Linked DNA regions of Homo sapiens: region 2 is linked to region 1. Evidence: promoter capture Hi-C in human tissues and cell types (Jung and others, 2019). All regions are on one chromosome and are shown on one strand. The core of a region is centred on a gene start or on the middle of the fragment in contact, and the rest is flanking DNA. Distances in the headings are between cores, read along the strand shown. Region 1 holds the start of DUSP3 (dual specificity phosphatase 3). Region 2 overlaps LSM12 (LSM12 homolog).

The links. Contacts are between HindIII fragments. The study calls those that stand out against the background at their distance.
Region 2: a contact is called between a fragment that was not itself captured here and the fragment with the promoter of DUSP3 in region 1, in 1 of the 25 tissues and cell types used here (dorsolateral prefrontal cortex).

What each region holds. Positions count from the first base shown.
Region 1 is chr17:43,775,676-43,780,931 of GRCh38, reverse strand. DUSP3 (dual specificity phosphatase 3) reads left to right here and starts at 1,955. Exons shown (of 3, transcript NM_004090.4): 1 at 1,955-2,132. The coding sequence starts at 2,008. CFAP97D1 (CFAP97 domain containing 1) reads right to left here and starts at 497. Exons shown (of 6, transcript NM_001136483.3): 1 at 346-497. The coding sequence starts at 469. RefSeq lists a silencer at 1,775-2,464 and an enhancer at 2,397-2,691. The HindIII fragment of the contact is 3,419 bases long and covers 1-1,982 here.
Region 2 is chr17:44,058,510-44,064,132 of GRCh38, reverse strand. It overlaps LSM12 (LSM12 homolog), which reads left to right. Exons shown (of 5, transcript NM_001371445.1): 2 at 199-332. Among named protein-coding and RNA genes, the nearest start is that of LSM12, 5.4 kb to the left of the region's middle. The HindIII fragment of the contact is 3,461 bases long and covers 1,342-4,802 here.

The DNA of each region.
Region 1 (5,256 bases), core at 706-3,205:
AATAGTGAAAATAAAATTTACAGAGATAAATGTCCTTCTAATCCAATGAAAGAGCTTCTCTTCCAATCTTTTTCCAATATTATTAGCCTGTCTATTGGCTTCTGAAGTCTTATCCCCTTTCTAACGTACTTCGGCTTTAAGGAGTTTAAAGGAGTATTTCCATCCAGTGAACTCCCTGGTGGAAGATACATTTTGTTATTGGTGCTAATGCCCTCTTCCCCAAACTCAGCAGATAAGGCCATATCATCCCAAAGCTGTGACCTGGTCTGGTTTCCTGTTGATCTCTTTATGGGGTACCATTCCAAAATCCCTAATAGCAGTGTCCAGCCCAAACTGCCCACATACCTATTTGTATTCTATTCTTGTGAGATACGTAGTGGCCAAAGTCCAGTTTCTTTCTGAAGGTTGTGCTTTGCCTGTGATTAGAGACGATAACAGGGTAGGCCAGATAATCCAGGGAATTGTTCATCTTCTCTTCCTAGTCTCACTTCAGAAATGAGGTACCCAGACTCCTCTGTGAGGTGCCTAGCTGTCCCCATGACAAGCTGTCATAGTTACCCAGTTATGACATCAGGGACAGGTCCCGGGAAGGGAGTAGGAGCAGCAGAGCATGGCTGGCTGCCTCTGGGCTTGTGTTTTTAATGCTAACCTCGGCTCAAGTCAAGATGAAGGTCAAGGAACTCGAAAGCTTTCCCCGCTGCTTAGAATGCAGATGCTGCCAGCCAACACCAGAAGGAAAGAAGTGGTGCACCGGGAGGGGTGGGCAGGCACGGGGTGGGGTGAGGGATACAGAAATTCCAGCCTTGGTTACACATCTTGGGCTATCAGCTAAGTAGTCTCCACTGCAATAGCTCCCCTGAAGGTGCAAGACCACAAGTTTTGGAGGAGGAGAAAGTTGACCCTAATGATAATCGGATCCAATTCCTTTTGCAAATGAGGAAACTGAAGACCACAGCAGCAGCAACGTTACTCAAGAACCAAGTTGGTGGCAGGGCTGGGCTCAGGATGTGGGGTTCCTGAATTCAAGGCCAAATTTGCCCTTTTGCAGGAAGGAAACTGCCAGTTTTTCATGGCAGTAGGGGAGGGCAGCTTTCCTCCAGTACAGAGACTATCTTTTGTACTTAGTGGGAGTTCAGGAAATGCTGAGTGGCTTATGGTGGGCTGGCATCTGCTCCAGGAAGGGCTGCAGGAGTCTGATTTATCTCCACCCCAGCACAGGGTATAGCACCCACTGGGTGCTCAACGCATTTGTTGATGAAGGACTAACACCTATTGAGTGCTCGCCATGCAGTGCTGGGTGCCTTCTTTGAATGTCACATTTAACCCTTCCAGCAACCCTAGAATTAGGTACCATTACTATCCCGCTTTTTTTTTTTTTCCCTGCAAACAGGCTCAGGTTAAGTAATTCCTCAGAATTCCAAACCTGACTGCTTTTAAGCACGACGATGACTCTCAATGAATGTTGAAAGCAGATGCGCCCCAGAGTAGGGCTTCTCAGACTTTGACCGTAGGGACCTCCTGGGGTCCGTAAAATGTCCACTCTGATCCAGCAGGGCTGGGCTGGGGCGGGGATTCTGTCAAGCGCCCGGGTGGTGCCTCCACTGCAGGGAGCCGCTCACGAGCCGAACCCGGCGGTCCCTGTAATCATGAAAGACTGAAGCGACCCCTAGGTGTACCTCCGCCACGAAATGTTTATTGGGCCCTGCATTTAATTCAGGGAAGGAAGTTACCGCGCTTGCCAGTTTACAAAGATACACAAACGGCCTGGACCGGGATGGGGCGAGGACCCCTGAGACTCCAGGGCGGTGGCGTCTTCCCCCCGGGACGCGCCCAGGAGTGGCGCGCGGGGCCCCCGCGTCACGGCGCCCGCGCTCCGCAGCTCCCGGAGCCCGGCGGGCCCGCCCCAGGGGCGGGACGGGGCGGCTCCCGGCGCGAGCCCCCGCCCAGCTGATCCGCCGCTCTCCGCCTCGCTTGCTCCTGCCGGGCGTGCAGGGCCCCGCCGCCGCCATGTCGGGCTCGTTCGAGCTCTCGGTGCAGGATCTCAACGACCTGCTCTCGGACGGCAGCGGCTGCTACAGCCTCCCGAGCCAGCCCTGCAACGAGGTCACCCCGCGGATCTACGTGGGCAACGCGTGAGTCCCTTTCGCGAGCCCGGCCCCGCCGTCCCTCTCGGGACGCCCCGCCCACCCGAGGCTGGGGTCGGGGTGTCGCGAGTCTTGGGTTGGGGGAGCCCGGGCGCGATGGCCCCTCCGGGAGCCACAGCGGGGGCTTGGGAGGGGCCTGGAGTCGACGCCTACCCCCGCGCGTGGGGCCAAGGAACTGGAACCCTGCCTGGCCGGGCGCGGCCCTTCCCCGTGGCGGGGTGCACGGAGCCCGGGTGGCGCCTGCCCGGGTCCCAGCCGCCACCCGCTTGGGGCTTGGCCTTGGGCGGGGTCGGGGCTACCATGTTCACTTAACAGGTGACCCTCGGTCGCCCGGCCGGTCTCCTGCCCGCGCGTCATGTGACAGCTGCCTGGTTCTGCAGTGAGGTCACCGCGGAATGTCTGCCTTCGCCGCCATGGCAACGGGCCGACGTCACAATTCGGGCATGGAATTTTCCCGGCCCGGCAGTCCCGGATCAGGGAACCTAAACACCCCAAATGAGCGAGTCCGGGGAGCTGGGCCGGGATTTCCAGGCCCCCACCTTCCAGATGTGATTTGATTTACAGGAGATTCTAGAACGGTCCAGTGATAACCCCCCTAAGGACCTGAGCCACCACCTAGAAAAGGCTCTTGACCTTTCACCCCCAGGCTCTGTCACCCAGGCTGGAGTGCAATGGCGAGATCTCGGCTCACTGCAACCTCTGCCTCCTGGGTTCAAGCAATTCTCCTGCCTCAGCCTCCCGAGTAGCTGGGATTACAGGCGCCCGCCACCACGCCTGGCTACTTTTTGTATTTTTAGTAGAGACGGGGTTTCACCATATTGGCCAGGCTGGTCTCTTGGCCAGGCTGGTCTCAAACTCCTGACCTCATGATCCGCCCACCTCGGCCTCCAAAAGTGCTGGGATTACAGGCGTGAGCCACCGCACCCGGACAGTAAGAGATTTTTTTTAATTTAAATTTTAAATTTTTTTTCTAGTAAGAATGTCTAATCAGCAGGAAAGAACCAGTGTTAACATTCTGAGATGTGAAATAGGAGCCTCAAGAAAGAATATATTAGCATGCCTGTACAGCCTTGGAAAGCCTCAAGTTGGATTTTCACGATACTCTGAGGACCCAGTTACCAAAATCCTAAGCTTCATGGCTCAGCCCAAGGATGGCATGTTGAAAACTCAAAACTAACCCTCCTCCCATTTTACAGAGGAGGAAATGGTGGCTCAGAGTGTGTGAGGGACTACAAGGACAGGGTCAATGTCTTGTTCATGTATGTATTTCCTGACCTCCGCTATGACCTGCTGTTTAGCCTGCCAAGGACTGCCACGGAAATGGGGGTCATCATGGAACTAGAAGGGGTCCATCAGGCCCCAGCCTCATGGGGACAGTTCTCATCCATTCCATCATTCATTCACCAGTCTGAGCACCTGCTTTATGTCAGGCACTGTACAATGTTCATTCATAGTAGAGATAGTAATAATGATAATTGTAAATTTTTTGAATGTTGAATTATTAATAGTATTAGAGGCCTGGCACGATGGCTCACGCCTGTAATCCCAGCACTTTGGGAGGCCGAGGCGGGTGGGTCACCTGAGGTCAGCAGTTCGAGACCAGCCTGACCAACATGGTGAAACCCTGTCTCTACTAAAAATACAAAAATTAGCTGGGCATGGTGCCTGGCGCCTGTGATCCCAGCTACTCCGGAGGCTGAGGCAGGAGAATCGTTTGAACACGGGAGGTGGAGGTTACAGTGAGCCAAGATCGTACCGTTGCACTCCAACTGGGCAACAAGAGCGAAACTCCATCTCAAAAAAAAAAAGTATTAGAGAAGGGAGATGAATGGGAGTGACTCTTCAAAGTGTTTTTTTCTATCAGCCACTGCTTCACAGTCTTGCGCGGTGTCCTAAGCAGGAATAAACAGAGTCCCACAGTGTCAGCCAAAGGCTTCAGGAATTGGAAAGCTCTAGAGACACCCTTCCTCTTGCACCAAGCAGCAAGCAGGCCTTGTTAGCCTCAGGAATCCCGCTTGCTTGGGCAGGTTGGCCATTCAGCTGTCATCACTTCCCAAGTGGAAACCAAGGTTGTACACGTCTGGTGTAGCCAGAGTGGCAATTGCTGATGGCCACTGTAGAAAATACATCCCTTGCCCTCTAAGCACCTCTGACCTTGACTTGGCCAGGGGTGTGGGGGTTCCTCAACAGGGAGGATCAGTGAGCACCAAGCACCAAGAGGATTTGGGCTCCATTCCCTTAACAAAATCAGGGCCGCAGCCACGTCCTCACAAGGCAGAGCCAGAGCCTGTGTGAGCCACATGTGCCAGGCCTTGGGGGTTTTGCAGCAGATGTGGGCATGAGGGGCAGAGTGAGGTGGAAGATAGAGCAGGGCTGGATGTCGGGAGAAAGGAGGTCTTCTCCCAGATCTGCCACCAGCAGCACACGGGGCCTGTGCCCATCCCTCTGCTCATCCTGTTGGGCCTGAGTTCAAGCTCTGTTAAGCAGGGATATTGCCATCCTTGTTCCTCACAGGGCTGCTCGCAGTGGGCAAGCAAGATCACACAGGAGGTGGCATTTTATAAAGTATAAACTGCTATTTGGACTGGGATGTTTTGTGAGATGAAATAAAGGGGCCTTTTCACCATTCAGACCAATTATTATTTTTATTTTATTTTATTTTATTTTTCGAGACGGAGTCTCACTCTGTCACCCAGGCTAGAGTGCAATAGCACAATCTCAGCACACTGCAACCTCCACCTCCCGGGTTCAAGTGATTCTCCTGTCTCAGCCTCTGTAATCCCAGAGTAGCTGGGATTACAGGCATGTACCACCACACCCGGCTCACTTTTGTATTTTTAGTAGAGACGGGGTTTCACCATGTTGGCCAGGCTGGTCCCGAACTCCTGACAGGTGATCCACCTGCCTCGGCTTCCCAGAGTGCTGGGATTACAGGTGTGAGCCACTGCACCCGACCTTAGATAAATTATTTTGTAACCTCCCATAGTTCTGTTGGGGCCACTTACTCCCCAAGTACTAAATCACCCAAAAGAGCTTTGGAAACGTAGCCAGTGGAATGTGGCAGGTAGGATCCCTCTGGGGGCAGGGAGGGGGCTGCCTGGTACGTGACAAA
Region 2 (5,623 bases), core at 1,823-4,322, 280 kb before region 1:
GGAAGCTTCCAAGGATTTGGGCAGGAGGAAGGTGACAGGCAGAGATTTCCTGAGGAGAACCGTGATTCTTATAAGGCCCTCATGCTCCTGGCCTGCCTTTTACAAGCCTTGTGTGAATCGTGTTTTCTATGCCCCTTTTGGGATGTGTCAGTGCCTCTGCTTGTCCTATTTTTCCTTAACTTTTTTTTTTCTCACCAGAATGTCCCTCTTCCAGTGGAAAGCCCAACCATGCAGACATCTTGCTCATAAACTTACAGTATGTTTCAGAAGTGGAAATAATTAATGACCGAACAGAAACCCCTCCTCCCCTAGCTTCACTCAATGTTAGTAAGGTAAGGACTCAAGGGCAGATCTGGCTCTCTAAAATGGTGGGAAAGATGAGTCTCATTGAGTCTTAGTGATACATTGTTGTCTATTTTTTATTTTTTAAAATTGACTTAAAATTGTTTGTTCTGATATCTTTTTAAAAAATGTAGGTTTAGTTTTTCTCTTTATTCCTGGATGTTATCAGTAGATCTTAAGAAGTAGCTTAACTCCCAAATAAGTTGAGAGCTTGCTTCTGCCTTTATGAAAGAGGACTTTTTAAATCTTGGAGTTCATGATGAACTAATAGTGCTGCTGGGGTTTGGGTGGTGGCGTTACCTATGAATGTCTTCAAATTGTGTATATGTGGATGTGTGCATACGTGAATATATGCATTTTCTGCTTGAAGATCTAAAGTGTTTTTCAGATTCTCGGAGGGTTTCATGACTTAGAAAAGTTTGAAAGCCACTGTCTTAAAGGTTCTTTTTTGTCTTTATGTTTGAATTTTGAGTTCTAACAGTTACATGCTTAGCATATTTTAATCTTGCACATAAAAGTTGATCTCTGGGAACCCCCAAGTCACTTTTGTGTGTGTATGTGTGAGACAGGGTCTTGCTTTGTTGCCCAGGTTGAACTTGAACGCCTGGGCTCAAGTGACCCTCCTGCCTCGGCCTTCTGAGTAGCTGGGATTACATGCATGCGTCACCATGCCTGCCCAAGTCTTTCTTTTTATTGGAGCCACTGCGCCCGGCGTTTTTTTTGAGACAGAGTCTCTCTGTGTCGCCCAGGCTGGAGTGCAGTGACGCGATCTCGGCTCACTGTAACCTCCGCCTCCCAGGTTAAGTGATTCTCGTGCCTCAGCCTCTGGAGTAGTTGGGACTACAGGTGTGTGCCACGACGCCTGGCCAAATTTTTTTTTTTTTTGGAGACAGGCACACACTGTCACACCCGGCTAATTTGTTTTATTTTAGTAGAGACGGGGTTTCATTCTGTTGCCCAGGCTGGTCTTGAACTCCTGAGCTCAGGCAGTCTGCTTGCCTCGGCCTCCCAAAGTGGTAAGATTATAGGTGTGAGCCACTGCTCCTGGCTCAATTTTTGTATTATTAGTAGAGATGGGGTTTCACCATGCTGGCCAGGCTGATCTTGAACTTCTGACCTCAAGTGATCTGCCTGCCTCAGCCTCCCAAAGTGCTGGGATTACAGGTGTCAGCCACCATGCCCGGCCCTAAGTCACTTTTTTGACAATTCCGTTTATTTAGTCAAAATTGAAGTTGATCATAATAATGCCTCAAGCCCTGTCATAGCCTGTGCTGTCCCCTGTACTTGGAACATTTTTCCTTCCAGAATGACTGGAGCCTTACCACCCATCAGCACTCAGTTAAATGGCACGTCTTCCAAGAAGTCTTCTCTGATCACCCAGGCTGAAGTAATTTGCCTGCATTATTCTCTCTCATAGTACCTTGTCCTTCACAGTTAAGGTGACCATATCATTTGTAGTCCAACCTGGGACATTTTTGAGAGTAAAGGGGAATGCTTTTATTTTACACAGGGACAACAGGTATAGATTAGGTTACCCTATTCATAGCTTTTTTTTTTTTTTTTTTTTTTGAGACGGAGTCTCGCTTTGTCGCCCAGGCTGGAGTGCAGTGGCGCCATCTCAGCTCACTGCAAGCTCCGCCTCCCGGGTTCATGCCATTCTCCTGCCTCAGCCTTCCTAGTAGCTGGGACTACAGGCGCCCGACACCACGCCCGGCTAACTTTTTTGTATTTTTAGTAGAGACGGGGTTTCACTGTGTTAGCCAGGACGGTCTCGATCTCCTGACTTTGTGATCCGCCCGCCTCGGCCTCCCAAAGTGCTGGGATTACAGGCGTGAGCCACCGCTCCTGGCCATAGTTGTTTACTTGTCTAGTGTCTGTCTCACTAAACTTTATTCTGCAGGGATGGGGACCATACCTATTTTATTTACTATTGAATATACAGAGCCTTGCACAGAGTATTTAATAAATATTTGTTGGATGAATAAGATGCCTCCAATTTTAGTAGCAGGTGCTTTTCATTAAGTCTCTTGAATTAATGTGGTGGAAGTTTTTCCCTCTAGAGGAATCTTGCAATAATGTGTATTACTTTGCCTCTCTTGGGAATGTGGTGTGTTCTGTACAGTTCAGCAAAGCAAGGAAACACTTAGGCAACTAAAATAATAGAGGGTAACTGATGCTGAGGCTAGTGAATGTCGTTACCTCAGATCTGGAGTTCCTATCTTGTCAGATTCTAGGGAAATGCCACACATTTTTTAGTGATGGCCAGGGACAGATTTGGAAGGCTATTGAGTTCATATGGGTGTTGTCTTGTATGGGATGTCCCATTCTTTGAAGCTTATAGGTTTTTGAAACCTTGGCTTAGTAATATACCTTCTACCAGAGTATAGGAGCTCTTTGAGTGTCTTCTATAAGCTCATGAAATTTTAAGACTTGTTAAATAATTTATTCCTTGGTGTTTTTTTTTTTTTTTTTTGAGATGGAGTTTCGCTCTTGTTGCCCAGGCTGGAGTGCAATGGTGCAACCTCGGCTCACCGCAACCTCCGCCTCCCGGGTTCAAGTGATTCTCCTGCCTCAGCCTCCTGAGTAGCTGGGATTACAGGCATGCACAGCCACACCCAGCTAATTTTGTATTTTTAGTAGAGACGGGGTTTCTCCGTGTTGGTCAGGCTGGTCTCGAACTCCCGACCTCAGGTGATCCGCCCGCCTCAGCCTCCCAAAGTGCTGGAATTACAGGCGTGAGCCACTGTGCCCAGCATTATTCCTAGTGTATTAAAGAACCAAATAGGCTCTGAGTTATTTTTTGGTGTTTATAGGGTATGATAAGTCTGTCACTAGATCTTTAGTGAGTAGTAAAGATCTGAAAGAGAGGTGATTTTCTGAAGTTAGAAAGTTGGCTCTTGTGACCAATGAGTGCCACCATTTAGAGGGGGTGGGGTAGTGTGGATGGGACTGTTAAGCAGGAGCTGTTAAGAAGCAGTTCTCTTCTTATGTTTGACCTCAGGTAGATATAGCTCTTGGTTAGTTTGTGGATTATCTTTGCCTTTAGGGTTTTCCTTGTTTACTAGCATTGTTGTAAACTAGCTGATTACCCAGTTTTTGAGGAAAGCAGCAGGAAGTAATAGCTTGGGGAACACCAGAAATCTTTACTTTTCTTACTCTGTGGCCTGCTTGCCAAATCTTGAAAGAGGTTTGCTGGGAAGAGGAGTCAGAAACTAAAAACTAAAATTAGGTTGGAGGGTTATCTTTGGATTTCGTTTATTCATTCTTCCGTTTGCAGAGATGTTTATGAGTAAGCTATATTGGCTTTCCCTTGAAATCAACCTTTTAGGATGCTTTGCGATTCCTTTTTGGAGATTGACTTAGAATTAGAGAGAGCCTTTTGGGCTACTGCTGAAAACAGCTATTTCGGGCAGCTATTAACATGTTGCATGAATGACGTGAAAAGTTAGTCTCATTTTTAAGATCACGGACTTGAGTTTTTCTTAAGATGGAGGATCATTTAAGCATATGGAAGGGAACTAATGTACTCTGGGATGTCTGGAAGAAAACTGTTGAAGTTTCAGTTGCTTGCAGTCTGGAGAAGCACTAGCCTACTCTATTTATTTTATTTTATTTATTTATTTTTTGAGACGAAGTCTTGCTCTGTCGCCCAGGCTGGAGTGCAGTGGCGCCATCTCGGCTCACTGCAAGCTCCACCTCCCGGGTTCATGCCATTCTCCTGCCTCAGCCTCCCGAGTAGCTGGGACTACAGGCGCCCGCCACCATGTCCGGCTAATTTTTTTGTATTTTTAGTAGAGACGGGGTTTCACCATGTTGGCCAGGATGGTCTCGATCTCCTGACCTTGTGATCCGCCCGCCTCGGCCTCCCAAAGTGCTGGGATTACAGGCTTGAGCCACCACACCCGGCCTACTCTAACTTTAGTCAAAGGTATCATCACATATTGGCCCATCTTGCTGACATAGTAAGTGATCTGCTTAATTAAACCTGTTGATAAAAACCGGATATTTGTTGACTCTGACCTAGCAGGAAATGGAAGAGAAGGGCTTATACAGGAAATACTTAATAATAGCTCAACTAGGGAAGGTATAAACTAGCAACTTCTTGGAAATTGGCCTGTTTTGCTTTCGAATGATAGTTCACTTCAGGCTAAGAAGTCTTATTTCTATCTCCAGCAGTAGCATGTAAGAGGAAGCTTGAGAGAGGACAGTAGGGTTGCAGTAGGGGGAATTCTTTTTTTTGAGACAGGGTCTCAGTCCATTGCCCGGTGTGATCTCGGTTCAAGCGATTCTCCTGTCTCAGCCTCCTGAGTAGCTGGGATTACAGGCGCCTGCTGCCACCATGCCCGGCTAATTTTTCTATTTTTAGTAGAGATGGGGTTTTGCCGTGTTGACCAGGCTGGCCTTGAACTCCTGACCTCAGATAATCCACCTGCGTCGGCCTCCTAAAGTGTTAGGATTATAGGCGTGAGCCACTGCACCTGGCCAAGTCCCCTGTTTTTCTATTACTTTGTGTTTAGCCCAAGGAACTCATAGTTTGGCAACATGAAGTACCCTGAATAATGTACAATGCTAAGTTATGTTTCGTGTGTGTGTGTATGTGTGTGTGTGTGTTCTGTTTTTTAGAGATATAGTCTCATTCTGTTGACCAGGCTAGAGTGCAGTGGCATGATCATAACTCACTGCAGCTTCGAACTCCTGGCTCATAGCCTCAAGTGATCCGCCCAAGCTTCCTGAGTAGCTGGGACTACAATCTCCCATCACCACACCTGGGTGGTTGTTTTGTTTCTTTTTAGTTAGTCTCGCACTGTGCCCAGGCTGGAGTGCAAATGATGCAGTCACAGCTCACCGCAGCCTCGACCTCCAGGGTTCGCTCAAGTGATCTTTCCACCTCGCCTCCCAAGTAGCTGGGACTACCGGCACAAACCACCACACCTGGCTAATTTTTCTTTCTTTTTTGAGATGGAGTCTTGCCCTGTTGCCCAGGCTGGAGTGCGGTGGTGCCGTGATCTCGGCTCACTGCAACCTCTGCCTCCTAGGTTCAAGCAATTCTCCTGCCTCAGCCTCCTAAGTAGCTGGGATTACAGGCGTGCGCCACCATGCCTGGCTAATTTTTTGTATCTTTAGTAGAGATGGGGTTTCACCATGTTGACCAGGCTGATCTCGAACTCCTGACCTCATGATCCACCCGCCTTGGCCTCCCAAAGTGCTGGGTTTACAGGCGTGAGCCACCGCGCCCAGCCTAGTTTTTTTTTGTAGAGACAGGGTCTTACTGTGTGGCCCA